Regions from separate parts of the Homo sapiens genome. Here regions 1 and 2 are each linked to region 3. The links are contacts of gene promoters, found by promoter capture Hi-C in blood cells and fetal thymus (Javierre and others, 2016). All regions are on one chromosome and are shown on one strand. The core of a region is centred on a gene start or on the middle of the fragment in contact, and the rest is flanking DNA. Distances in the headings are between cores, read along the strand shown.

Region 1 (3,750 bases), core at 835-3,334, 130 kb after region 3:
CAGCCACGTACCTGGGAAGTGGCTTCTGCTGCTGCTGTGTGGAGGCAAACACACTAACCCATTGGGCAGCCACGTGGTGACTTGCTCTGTCCATTGACAGCTCTGGGCCAGCCTGCCTTGTCCTTCCACCCAGCCCTTTCTCCCCGCTGCAGGGGACGCTGGGAGATTTGAAGCAGGCTGGATGGGCAGGATGGGCAGGCAGACAGAGACTAGGTTCTCGGGCCACAGAGACAGGAGCACTAGATTCCTCAGTGCTCAGGCCTCGTCCTCCTGGCGAGTGACACTTTATTAGCCAGAGAAGGAAAGCAGTGTCTCTGTTAACTAGCAATTGATCTTCTGCAATTTATCTGGAAGTTGTGAATAAGCTTTTCGCAAGGCACCTAATTAGTAAATCTAGCGCCTTCAGGGGGTGATTACATCCAGTCAGGATTGATGCTTTGTTAATAATTATATTTTAAAACACGCTTAGTCACACTCATGCCTTTTAGTATAAATAGTTGGGCCCTCCCGGGAGATGGGGTAGGGGTCTTGGGGGGCCGAGCCAGTGATCTGGCCCATGTCCTGGATCCAAGGCCCTGGCACACCCTCCTTTCCCCACCTGGTCCTGAGCCCCATTGGAATGTTTTAAGCCAGGAACAGGGACATCTCAGGCCACATGCCTGTCCAGGACTCCACCTATCCAGGACTCATGGGGAGACCCTGAGCTCAGTTCCCCAACAGTGGTTCTCAAACTTCAGTGTGATGAGAATCACCTGGTGCCTACTGTACTTGTTAAAATACAGATTCCTGGGCCTCACCCCCTGAGATTCTAAGTCAGGGGCTGTGGGGTAGGTCCCGGGATTCTGTACTTTAAGCACTCTGGGTGATTCTGATGCCAATGGTCTCTGGACGTCCCCTTGGAGAAATATTGCCGCAGCAAATCCAGCCCTTCCTCCCTAGACACACTGCTCAGAGGCCTGCACATTCCCTCCATTTCTGAAACCCTTTTCCTTGTCTACCAGGAACCCTTGTCATCCAGAATTTCCCAAAGGATGGTTTGCAGAACACCAGTCTCAACAGAAAAATCTGTGGAAGAAGTGCCCTGTGATCTGGCCTATTTGGAATACTCCATCCATCTTTTGGAAAATTAAAATATTTATGGTCAAGTTAAAGGCGCTGAGAAGTCCTGCAGTAAATAAACCTGTATTTACTTGGACCCCGTAGCCCCTTTCTGTGGTAGTGATTGGACCCCATAGCCCCTTTTCCTGGTAGTGATTGGAGCCCGTAGCCCCTTTTCCTGGTAGTGATTGGACCCCATAGCCTCTTTTCCTGGTAGTGATTGGAGCCCGTAGCCCCTTTTCCTGGTAGTGATTGGACCCCGTAGCCCCTTTTCCTGGTAGTGATTGGAGCCCGTAGCCCCTTTCTGTGGTAGTGATTGGACCCTGTAGCCCCTTTTCCTGGTAGTGATTGGACCCTGTAGCCCCTTTTCCTGGTAGTGATTGGACCCCGTAGCCCCTTTTCCTGGTAGTGATTGGAGCCCGTAGCCCCTTTTCCTGGTAGTGATTGGACCCCGTAGCCCCTTTTCCTGGTAGTGATTGGACCCTGTAGCCCCTTTTCCTGGTAGTGATTGGACCCCGTAGCCCCTTTTCCTGGTAGTGATTGGAGCCCGTAGCCCCTTTCTGTGGTAGTGATTGGACCCTGTAGCCCCTTTTCCTGGTAGTGATTGGAGCCCGTAGCCCCTTTTCCTGGTAGTGATTGGACCCTGTAGCCCCTTTTCCTGGTAGTGATTGGAGCCCGTAGCCCCTTTTCCTGGTAGTGATTGGACCCCGTAGCCCCTTTTCCTGGTAGTGATTGGACCCCGTAGCCCCTTTTCCTGGTAGTGATTGGACCCCGTAGCCCCTTTTCCTGGTAGTGATTGGACCCCGTAGCCCCTTTTCCTGGTAGTGATTGGACCCTGTAGCCCCTTTTTGTGGTAGTGTGGCTTTGTATCTTGTGGCGCTTGGGTTCTGGGCACACTTTGGGCCACATTTCCCTTCCCTTTCCCTGCAATAGCAGAGGCCGGCTCCTTGGCCAGGCTTTGCCCTGCATTCCCACAGCCTCTTGCCCAGTCCTCGTCCTTCCTTCCTTTCTGTTTCTTCATCAGGGGACCTGTGTTGACCTTGGCCTGACCCCCTGGCCCTGGGAACCCTCCCCTTCTGATTCTTAAACCTTCTCCCTGACCGTTCCTCCCACCAGCTGTCAAGGATGAAGAGCCACGAGCCAGGATGGAGCATCTACCGGAAGAGGCGGTTGGCTGAGGAGCTGCGGTAGGCAATGTTGTTGAAGAAGATCTCCAGCTCCTGGTCATTGTCAAAGTCGGCGGTGATGACCGTGCGGACAGGGGAGGGCATGGAGAACTTGGGTGAGGCGATGTCCTGGAGGAAACAAGGCTGGGGGTCAGTGGCAGGAGAGTGGGCTGGGGCGGGAGGCCAGCTCTCCTCTATGGAGTGTGGGGGCAATTAAAAATAAGAGACAGTCCAACCCAAAAGCTCCTCTCCTGCCTCCCGCAAAGGACCTGGGGGCTGCCTTTAGGACCACACAGACCTCAGGCTGCTTGTACGAGAAGAAGGAGGGAAGAATAACAGTCGTGCTAGACACCAGTGAAGTGCTTAGCCGATCCCTAGTCTGGATCACACCTGTCCATCCCTTCTGTCCATCCCTTGAGGCAGTACAGACATTAGCCTTCCCATTTGACGGGTGAGGTAACTGAGTCCTGGAGAAGGAGGGGAACTGCGATGTCACAGCTACTGAGTGGGGAGGCCAGGGCTTCTGATTCCGGACTCTGTGCCCTTTCTCCTAGGCACCCTTCCTCCTCTGTGCTGAGTCAGAAGCTGGGTGGGCACCGGAAATCTCTGTGCATCTAAATCCAGGCTCCACCACTGACTAGCTGTGTGATCTTAGGCAAGTTACTAACCCCCTTGGATCTCACCTTCCCCATCAGTAATGTGGGAATAGTAATAGCTGCCTGGGTTGTGAGGATTGCATGTAAAATGCCTGGCACAGAGTGGGCATGACATAGCTCGCTGGCAGCCTGTCCTGCCTTACCCACCACCTGCCTCAGGGAAGGTGAAAGAGGTTACCTGTAGCTGTGGATTTGGCTGCCTCTACTACCTTACGTTGTTTCTTGGGAGTCTTTTTATTTTTATTTTTTGAGACATTTGCTTTGAGGGGGTTGCGGTATCAGCTACACCTGTCCAGGACTAATGGGGAGACCCCAGGCCCAGGATAGCCCAGCTGGGACTCCAAAGTACTGGGAGGGCCTTGGGGGACCAGGCAAAGGGTCCCAGGTGTGTTTCTGCCTCTGAAATAGAAGGAGAGCTGGGAAGGGCAATCTTCTATTTCTGAGCGTAATATCCTCATCATAGGTGGGTTTTTCCCCTAAAGACCTTGGGGACATGTCTAAGTCCCAGGGCCCACGTGGAGAGGGCTGAGAAAGGTACAGGTGGTGTCTCTGGGAGCATCCTCTACCCGACTTGGGCCTGCTCTCGGCCTCCTGCTGCAGACCCTCTTTGGCAGCCACAGGGATGAGCAGGCTGGGTCAGCGGTCGAGCTGCCTGCTCTGGGGAGGCCAGGGAAAGAGGCTGTCTCCATCAGAGGAGTAATGAGGTTGAATAAGCCTGGCCAGCTGGTCTGGGTGGGTTGAGCTGGGCCTTAAGAGCCAGGGAGCAAAAAGACCTCAGGATCTCTAGCCGTTATGATTCTATTGATCCTATAAAAATGGAAACCTCCCAT
Region 2 (3,501 bases), core at 940-3,439, 240 kb after region 3:
ATTTTACTTAGATGAGGAAAGTGGGTCTGTGTAAAGTAAATTGCATAGGGTTTATAGATACTAGGTTGGCTACGGTTAGAATTAAAACCAGGTCTTTCAATTCCAAGGTCAAAGCTTTCTACTGTTACATGCAACTGCTGCAAATAATGTTACCCGCCAGTTACTTTAGTGCTACCAAAAAAGCTCAGGCCTCCCAGAATGAGGTCGACAGGCCCCTGTAGTGTTTTTATTGATTGACTGATTTTTGAAGTGATAACGAAACTTTGTACAGTGTAGTTTGGCAGCTGTAGAGTTAGGAAGCCTTGGGGTTCAGATCCCGACTTATCTACTTACTATTTACTTAGCAGAGAGCAAGTTGCTTACTGCCTCTGAACCCCATCTGCCTTTTCTCTCAATGTGGATGACAATACATTTACTTCATAGTGCTGTTGGGGATGAAATAAAATGAGGGATGTGAAATAAGATGATGCATAGTGTCTGGCACATATTAGTGCTCAATGCACAATCTTTTTTTTTTTTTTTTTAGATGGAGTCTTGCTCTGTCGCCCAGGCTGGAGTGCAGTGGTGCCGTCTCGGCTTACTGCAACCTCCGCCTCCTGGGTTCAAGCAATTCTTGTGCCTCAGCCACCTGAGTAGCTGGGATTACATGCGCGCGCCACCATGCCCAGCTAATTTTTGTATTTTTAGTAGAGACGGGGTTTCACCATGTTGGCCAGGCTGGTCTTGAACTCCTGACCTCAAGTGATTCACCCATCTCGGCCTCCTAAAGTGCTGGGATTACAGGCGTGAGCCACTGCACCCGGCCCTCAATGCATAATAATTATCAATGGTGATTGGCAGAAATTTACAATGCACTGTCACACACAATAGCCTAGGAAGGCTTCAAGACAACAAGCCATTACAGTTATTCCCCTTTTTACAGATGATATCTCTGAATGTCAGTGAGTAAGAGACTCAAGGACATAAAACTGGAACGTTTACACCTTAGGGCATGAACTCAGGCTATTTGGATTCCTAGTCTTATGCTTTTTTTGCAACCCAATGTTGGTTTTCAGGAGAGAAAGGAGCCGTGGGCAACAAGGCATGCTCAGCGGAGGTTTAGCTAACCCTCTTAATTTCCATCTTCCCCCCTCTTTGAAACGGTTAATTAATGTTTTCTTAGTCTTATGTAAAGTGCTGTGCAAAGGCAGCTTTGAGCATACCCTTCTACCATAATTGTCACCCTTAAGCCCTTCCTGTATAGAGATCCTAGAGCCCCACTGGTAAAGAAGTAATATCTGCATAATCAAGTTGGCTTAAATATGAAGAGAAGACAGTGCCTTAAAGCAGAGCATTCCAGTTTTCTCCCTGAAAAGCCTGTGGATCAAACACCCTTCTTCCAAACTTCCTTCCATCCTGACCCACTGCAGTAGCAAAAGACAAGGTCACAGCACCCCAGAACCCCAGCTGAGCCCAGCCAAGCTGCAGCTGAGCCACAGACAACCACAGACCTATGAGTGAGAACGTATGTTGTTGCAAGTCACTGGGGTTTGGAGTTGTTACACAGCCTTATTACAGCAAAATCTGATTAATATCTGTCACACTGAGGGTGGGAGGCACTTACCCCGCCACGACGATCTCAAAGTCCCCATCATGGTCCACATCAGTAACTGCCACACCATAGTTGAGCTGGGTGGGATTACTGTCATAGTCAGGAGGCAGAACTGAGTTGGTGACTGCAGTGAACATGGGTTCAGCCCGCTGGGACCCCTCAGTGATGGGCAGAAACCAGAGCAGCAGCAGGAACGGTAACATCCTGGACATCTGAAACCAAAAGTGACAAATGTTACCGAAAGAACCTGTAACCAAAGCAATCCCGGAACATTAAAGTCCTGGGTAGGCCCAGAGTGCCTTTCTCTCCCATTCATGGAGAGCTTGACAGTGCCTAGGCTGCTGGCTTTCCACAAGCCCTGCCCTCCCCTCCCTTGCCCTCCCCACCCTCATTGAAACTGCAACCTGACTCCATCATGGCTGATCGCCCTTAGCCTGCTCTGCTTTTTCTTTTTCTACAGCATCTATCATTGTGTGATGTTTGGTATAATTTACTTATGATTACACTTATTATTTATTGTGTGCCTCCCTCTGCTAGAGTGTAAGCTCCACTTGGGCAAGGATCTCTGTTTTATTCACTGATATGCAGCAAGCCAAAGGTAGTTCACATAATAGGCACTTCTTTCCTTCATTTATTTCATATTTGTGGAAGGAAGGAAAGGAGGGAGGAAGGGAGGGAGATGGGGAGGGAAAGGTATAAATACAAAGGCATTTCCCATACTCTGGGAGAAAGACTGGGCGAATGAAGAACCTAACAGCTCTCAAACAATGCAGAGTTTGGGTGAGACCCTCATGAGTATCCAGATCTAGAACAATAATAGATGCAATGAAAGACTGTTCTCCTGTGGTACATACTCCAGAGGTAGCCAGGGGGAATATGTGACTTGGCAGGTTCCTCATGCCAACATCCCTCCCTAGGGCAGCTGGCCATCACCTCCAGACCAAGAAGCAGTCAGTTAGGGGAGGCGTTCCAGCAGGATCTGGCGGATAGCACATCATTCACTTGGAGAAATTAAACCATTGCGTGCGTGTTTTATTATAAATTAATTATGTATAATGCATTGTATAATTCATTATTATATCTCTAACATAACTCAGGGTGTTGCCAAGTAGCCTGGGGCCATGGGAGCCTGTGGCACACACCCAGGAGACAGATGAAAATGGCCAAGGAGGTGGAGGGATTCCACCCCCCTTGAGTGAAAGCAAGGGAGACACTTGGAACGCTGCAGATGGCACCACCCTGAGACTCTACCTGCAGGCCTAGAATCAGCACTCATGAAATGTTTTAAAGGCTCTGCTGGAAGGAGGTCCACAAAGGCTGCATGGGTCTAGTCCCAGCAGGCAAAGCGGTACTTTCCTGCCTTCAGAAGGTAGCAGACCTCTTCTAGATGGAACTTTTCCTGCTGGCTTGTCAGTGCATCTGGCAGCCAAGGCAAGGCTGACTGAGGCTGATGTCTTAATGAAGGGAAGAGCAAGGAAGATCTGAAGACTGTCTCCCCATATGGAGACAGATGCTCCTGCCGGCAAATGAGCTTGCTGTTCAAGGACCCAGAGACCAAAATGAAGGGGCTGGGCACTGCCTTCAGAGCCAGACGTGATTCAGGAGCCTCCTGAATGCCTTGCTGGAGAGGCTGGGGAGTGACACAGGGGCAAGGCTCCAATTGCAGGGCAGAAACTGGGAAGGAGGTTCTTGTAGTGTGTTCACAGGGCACATGTGGGGTGTGGCACTACCAAACTGAGGTCATTCCAAATTACAGAGATGTCTGAATGAGACAGCATCTTCTACTGGGTTTTCTAATCACTAAAGACAAATGCATCATGAATCACTACAAGAGCTCTGCAACTTGGCAGGAACTTTGATTGGATAAAGGAAACTCATAATTGGATTAATGAGCAGCTGGGTGGGGATGG
Region 3 (3,262 bases), core at 340-2,839:
CGGTTACTCAAGTCTGACAGCAGACGGGGAGGAAGGGGGAGAGGGCATGGAGCCAGCCTGGAAGAGCTATGTGGACCAGCACAGAAAAGGGGAGGCTGAGACCAGGGAGAAATTAGGGTTCAGGGGACTGAGGGGTGGGTGGGAGGAGGGACTTAGGACCTCATAGGTTTCATGAGCCTGGGATGGCTTCCTATTTTATGGATGGGGAAACTGAGGCTCAGTGAAGTCAAGCAACTTGCCTAAGGGCTTCTCTTCAGGGGCAGAGCCTAATCTGCTCTTCCTTCCGCACTGAGCCTTACCCGAATGACTCCCAGCCAGGGGAACTGGGGAAGAGGGTGGAGATCTTAGGGTTCCAGGTACAGAAAACGGGGACGCAGATCATAGTCCAGAACATTCTTAGTCCCCAGTCTTTCTCCACATCCCTTCCCTCACCTCTCCTCTCTTCCCAAGGTCCCAACACGGAGTGGGGATGATGCTTGCTTTGGTGCCTCGGGATCCAGGTGAAAGGCATTGTTTAACGACCCCAGGCATTCTTGGGCTGAGAGGGGTCATAAGGCATTTATCAGGACGTCCCAGGATTGGGGGGACGGCATTGGGGGATTCTCAGCAGCTTGGTTGGATGGGTACTGAGAGGGGTGCCAGGGGTTTCCAGGGAACGAGAGCCAGAGGGAAGGTCTGGAGCCGCCGGGAGGCACTATGCTGCCACTCCCTGGGGAGGTGGGAAGGCGGGAAGGCTGCGGGGGATAATTCCGGGGACGCTGGGCTGAGCTAGGACAGCGTGTGTGTGTGTGTGTGGGCGGAGGGGGGGAGCTGCACCTCTTGGGGGGTTCGCAGAGCTGTGCTAGGGGAGCTGCAGGGCCGTCGGAGCGCGCGGGGACGGCGGCGGCGGCGCTACCTGGAGGCGCGGTGGCGGGCAGGTGCCCGAACTGCACGGCGATGCAGAGGTCGTTGTCCAGGGGGAACTTGTGGCAGTGCAGCATCTCAGGCCAGGGGAAGCCGTAGGCCTCCATGAGCGGCGCGCAGCCGGCGCGCACGGCCTCGCACAGCGAGCGGCACGGGTAGATGGGCCGGTCGAGACAGACGGGCGCAAAGAGCGAGCACAGGAAGACCTGCGTATCCGAGTGGCAGCGCTTGGCCAGCAGCGGCAGCCAGCTGCTCGCCTGCTGCTTCACTTCGGCCAGGCTCTCGTGCTCCAGCAGGTTGGGCAGCCGCATGCGCTTGTAGCCCACCGTGTGGCAGAGCGGCAGGTCGGCAGGGATGTCAAGGCACTGCGGCGGCTTGGAGTAGGAGCGGCCGTGCAGCGGCTCGGCCTGCCAGCCATAGTAGTCGTACTCCTCGCAGCGCGCCGGCGCCCAGTGCAGCGCCCCCAGCAGCAGCGCCAGCGCGGCCGTCCGCACGCCCCCCCCCGCCGCCGCCGCCCGCATGGCTGCGCCCTCTCCAGGTGCGCGCCGCGCAGCCCCCCGACGCTCGGTGCCCGGCGGCCCAGGTGTTCCGGCGTGCGCCCCCGGCCCTGACTCTACCCAGCCGCCGCCGCCGCCGCCGCGGAGGTCGCCCAGGTGGGTGGCAGCCTGCGCTGCGGGCGCCCCGACTGATCCTGGCGCCTCCCACCTCGGGGCTCCAGCCCGGGCCTCGCCGTGCGCCCCAGCCAATCTCCGGCCGCCTGGCCCCAGCTCCAAGGCGGGGAGGCAGTGGGGGCGGCCCTCAGCCCCTCCCGCACCCTGCCCGAGCGTCCCGCCCAGCGCCAGGTCTTGCGCCCCTCTCCCGGCTCGGCTCCCCTGCCGCAGCCCTGGCCTCGCCCAGCGTTTCTCCCCAGGGCTCCCTGCCTCCCTGGGCATTTTCCTCGACCCTCGCCTTCTCCATCCTTCCTCCTTATCTCTCTCCGCCACAGCCTCTCCTGTTCCTTTTCTCACTCACTTCACTTGCTTATCTCTCTGCCTTGGCTTTTCTCCCTCTGCTCTGTTTTCTCTTCCCCGACACCTCGGTTCCTCTTCTCCCTGGTGGGAGGCTCGTGCCACCCCACACCCTGGATCTTCTGGTCCTCCTGGCAGGTCTTCATTGAGCTTGGTGCCAGGCCCCATGCTGGCTGCTGGGGAATCAAAGATGGATATGACCCAGAACCCACCTCCAGGGCCAGGATAGTCTAGTGGGGGTGAAGGTAATCATAGCTTCTATTTAGTGAGCTCTTACTACCTGCCAGGGACGGTGCAAGGTGCAAGGTGCGGTGCAAGGTGCGGTGCAAGGTACGTTCCAAGCTTATCAGCTATTGCTAATGATAGCCAATACTTAGTGGGTGCTAATTGTGTGCCAAGTCTGATCTGAGCACATTGCATAAACTCCCTCAGCTAATTCTCACAATAAGGCTAGATGGTGGGTAGGTACTATTATTGTCCCCACCTTACAGATAAAGATCCTGCGGCAGAGAGGTTAAGCACAGATTAGAGCTGGGATTTGAACCCAGATAGTCTTTTTCGAGAGTCAGAGCCCAGAAACAACCAGGAGGCCTGGATTCTGAGTCTGTAGGCCTAATGACCAAGGGGATAGGGAGTTCAGAGAAGTGGAGTAACTGGCCCTTGGCCACACAGCTCATATGTGAAGGAGCTAGGATTTGAATCCAGATGTTGGGCTACAAAGGCCAGGGCTTAACCACTCTGTGGTAAGATAACTTCCAACCCATGGTAGGGAACACAGTGGGAAGAGGGGGAATTGATGGTGTGTCTGAGCAGGGCACCCAGGCAAGCATCAGAGGGGAGGGGACCTTCAGGAGCCCCATGCTTGGTGTCTTTCTCTCCTGTCTGAGTCCTGCCTTTCATTGGCTCTCCCTTGAGAGGAATTTGGACTGGAGGCTTGAAGGGAGGGGAATTCCTTCCTGAGAGCCTAGCCTGACACCTGACCTCCCAGTCTTTGGTGGGGAGGGTACCTTGGGGAGGTGTCTCCTAGGAGGGCGTGGGGAGCTGGGGGCTGGCTCTGCTGGAAGGCAGGAGTACTGGGCACTTTCCCCCTCTGCTCCTCCCCTTAGTCCCACTAATGGATGTTTCCAGGGCTCCTGTCTTCCTCTGGGTCTGTCCTTGCAGTGGTAGTGGAGAGGGGTGAGGGGCCACTCCTTAATATTCACAGAAAATGCATAGAGTACCTACTATCTGCAAGGCATGGGGTAGGGTATGCATGGGGACACAGAGGTGCAAAAGACATGGCTCTGTTCCTTCTGATCTAGTTGTAAGAAAAAGATACAAGGCAGGCAGAGGAGGCAGGAGAAGCCTCATCT

The links. Contacts are between HindIII fragments. The CHiCAGO score rates a contact against its expected background, and 5 or more counts as called.
Region 1: a contact is called between a fragment that was not itself captured here and the fragment with the promoter of SFRP5 in region 3, in 2 of 17 cell types (M1 macrophages and M2 macrophages). The highest score is 5.3, in M1 macrophages.
Region 2: a fragment that was not itself captured here is called in contact with the fragment with the promoter of SFRP5 in region 3 in 1 of 17 cell types (M1 macrophages); the score reaches 5.5 in M1 macrophages.

Annotation. Positions count from the first base shown.
Region 1 is chr10:97,899,247-97,902,996 of GRCh38, forward strand. CRTAC1 (cartilage acidic protein 1) reads right to left here. Exons shown (of 15, transcript NM_018058.7): 8 at 2,257-2,393. Among named protein-coding and RNA genes, the nearest start is that of MIR3085, 25 kb to the left of the region's middle. The HindIII fragment of the contact is 3,442 bases long and covers 364-3,750 here.
Region 2 is chr10:98,009,535-98,013,035 of GRCh38, forward strand. CRTAC1 (cartilage acidic protein 1) reads right to left here. Exons shown (of 15, transcript NM_018058.7): 2 at 1,604-1,803. Among named protein-coding and RNA genes, the nearest start is that of CRTAC1, 19 kb to the right of the region's middle. The HindIII fragment of the contact is 4,154 bases long and covers 113-3,501 here.
Region 3 is chr10:97,770,410-97,773,671 of GRCh38, forward strand. SFRP5 (secreted frizzled related protein 5) reads right to left here and starts at 1,590. Exons shown (of 3, transcript NM_003015.3): 1 at 896-1,590. The coding sequence starts at 1,424. The HindIII fragment of the contact is 8,141 bases long and covers 1-2,250 here.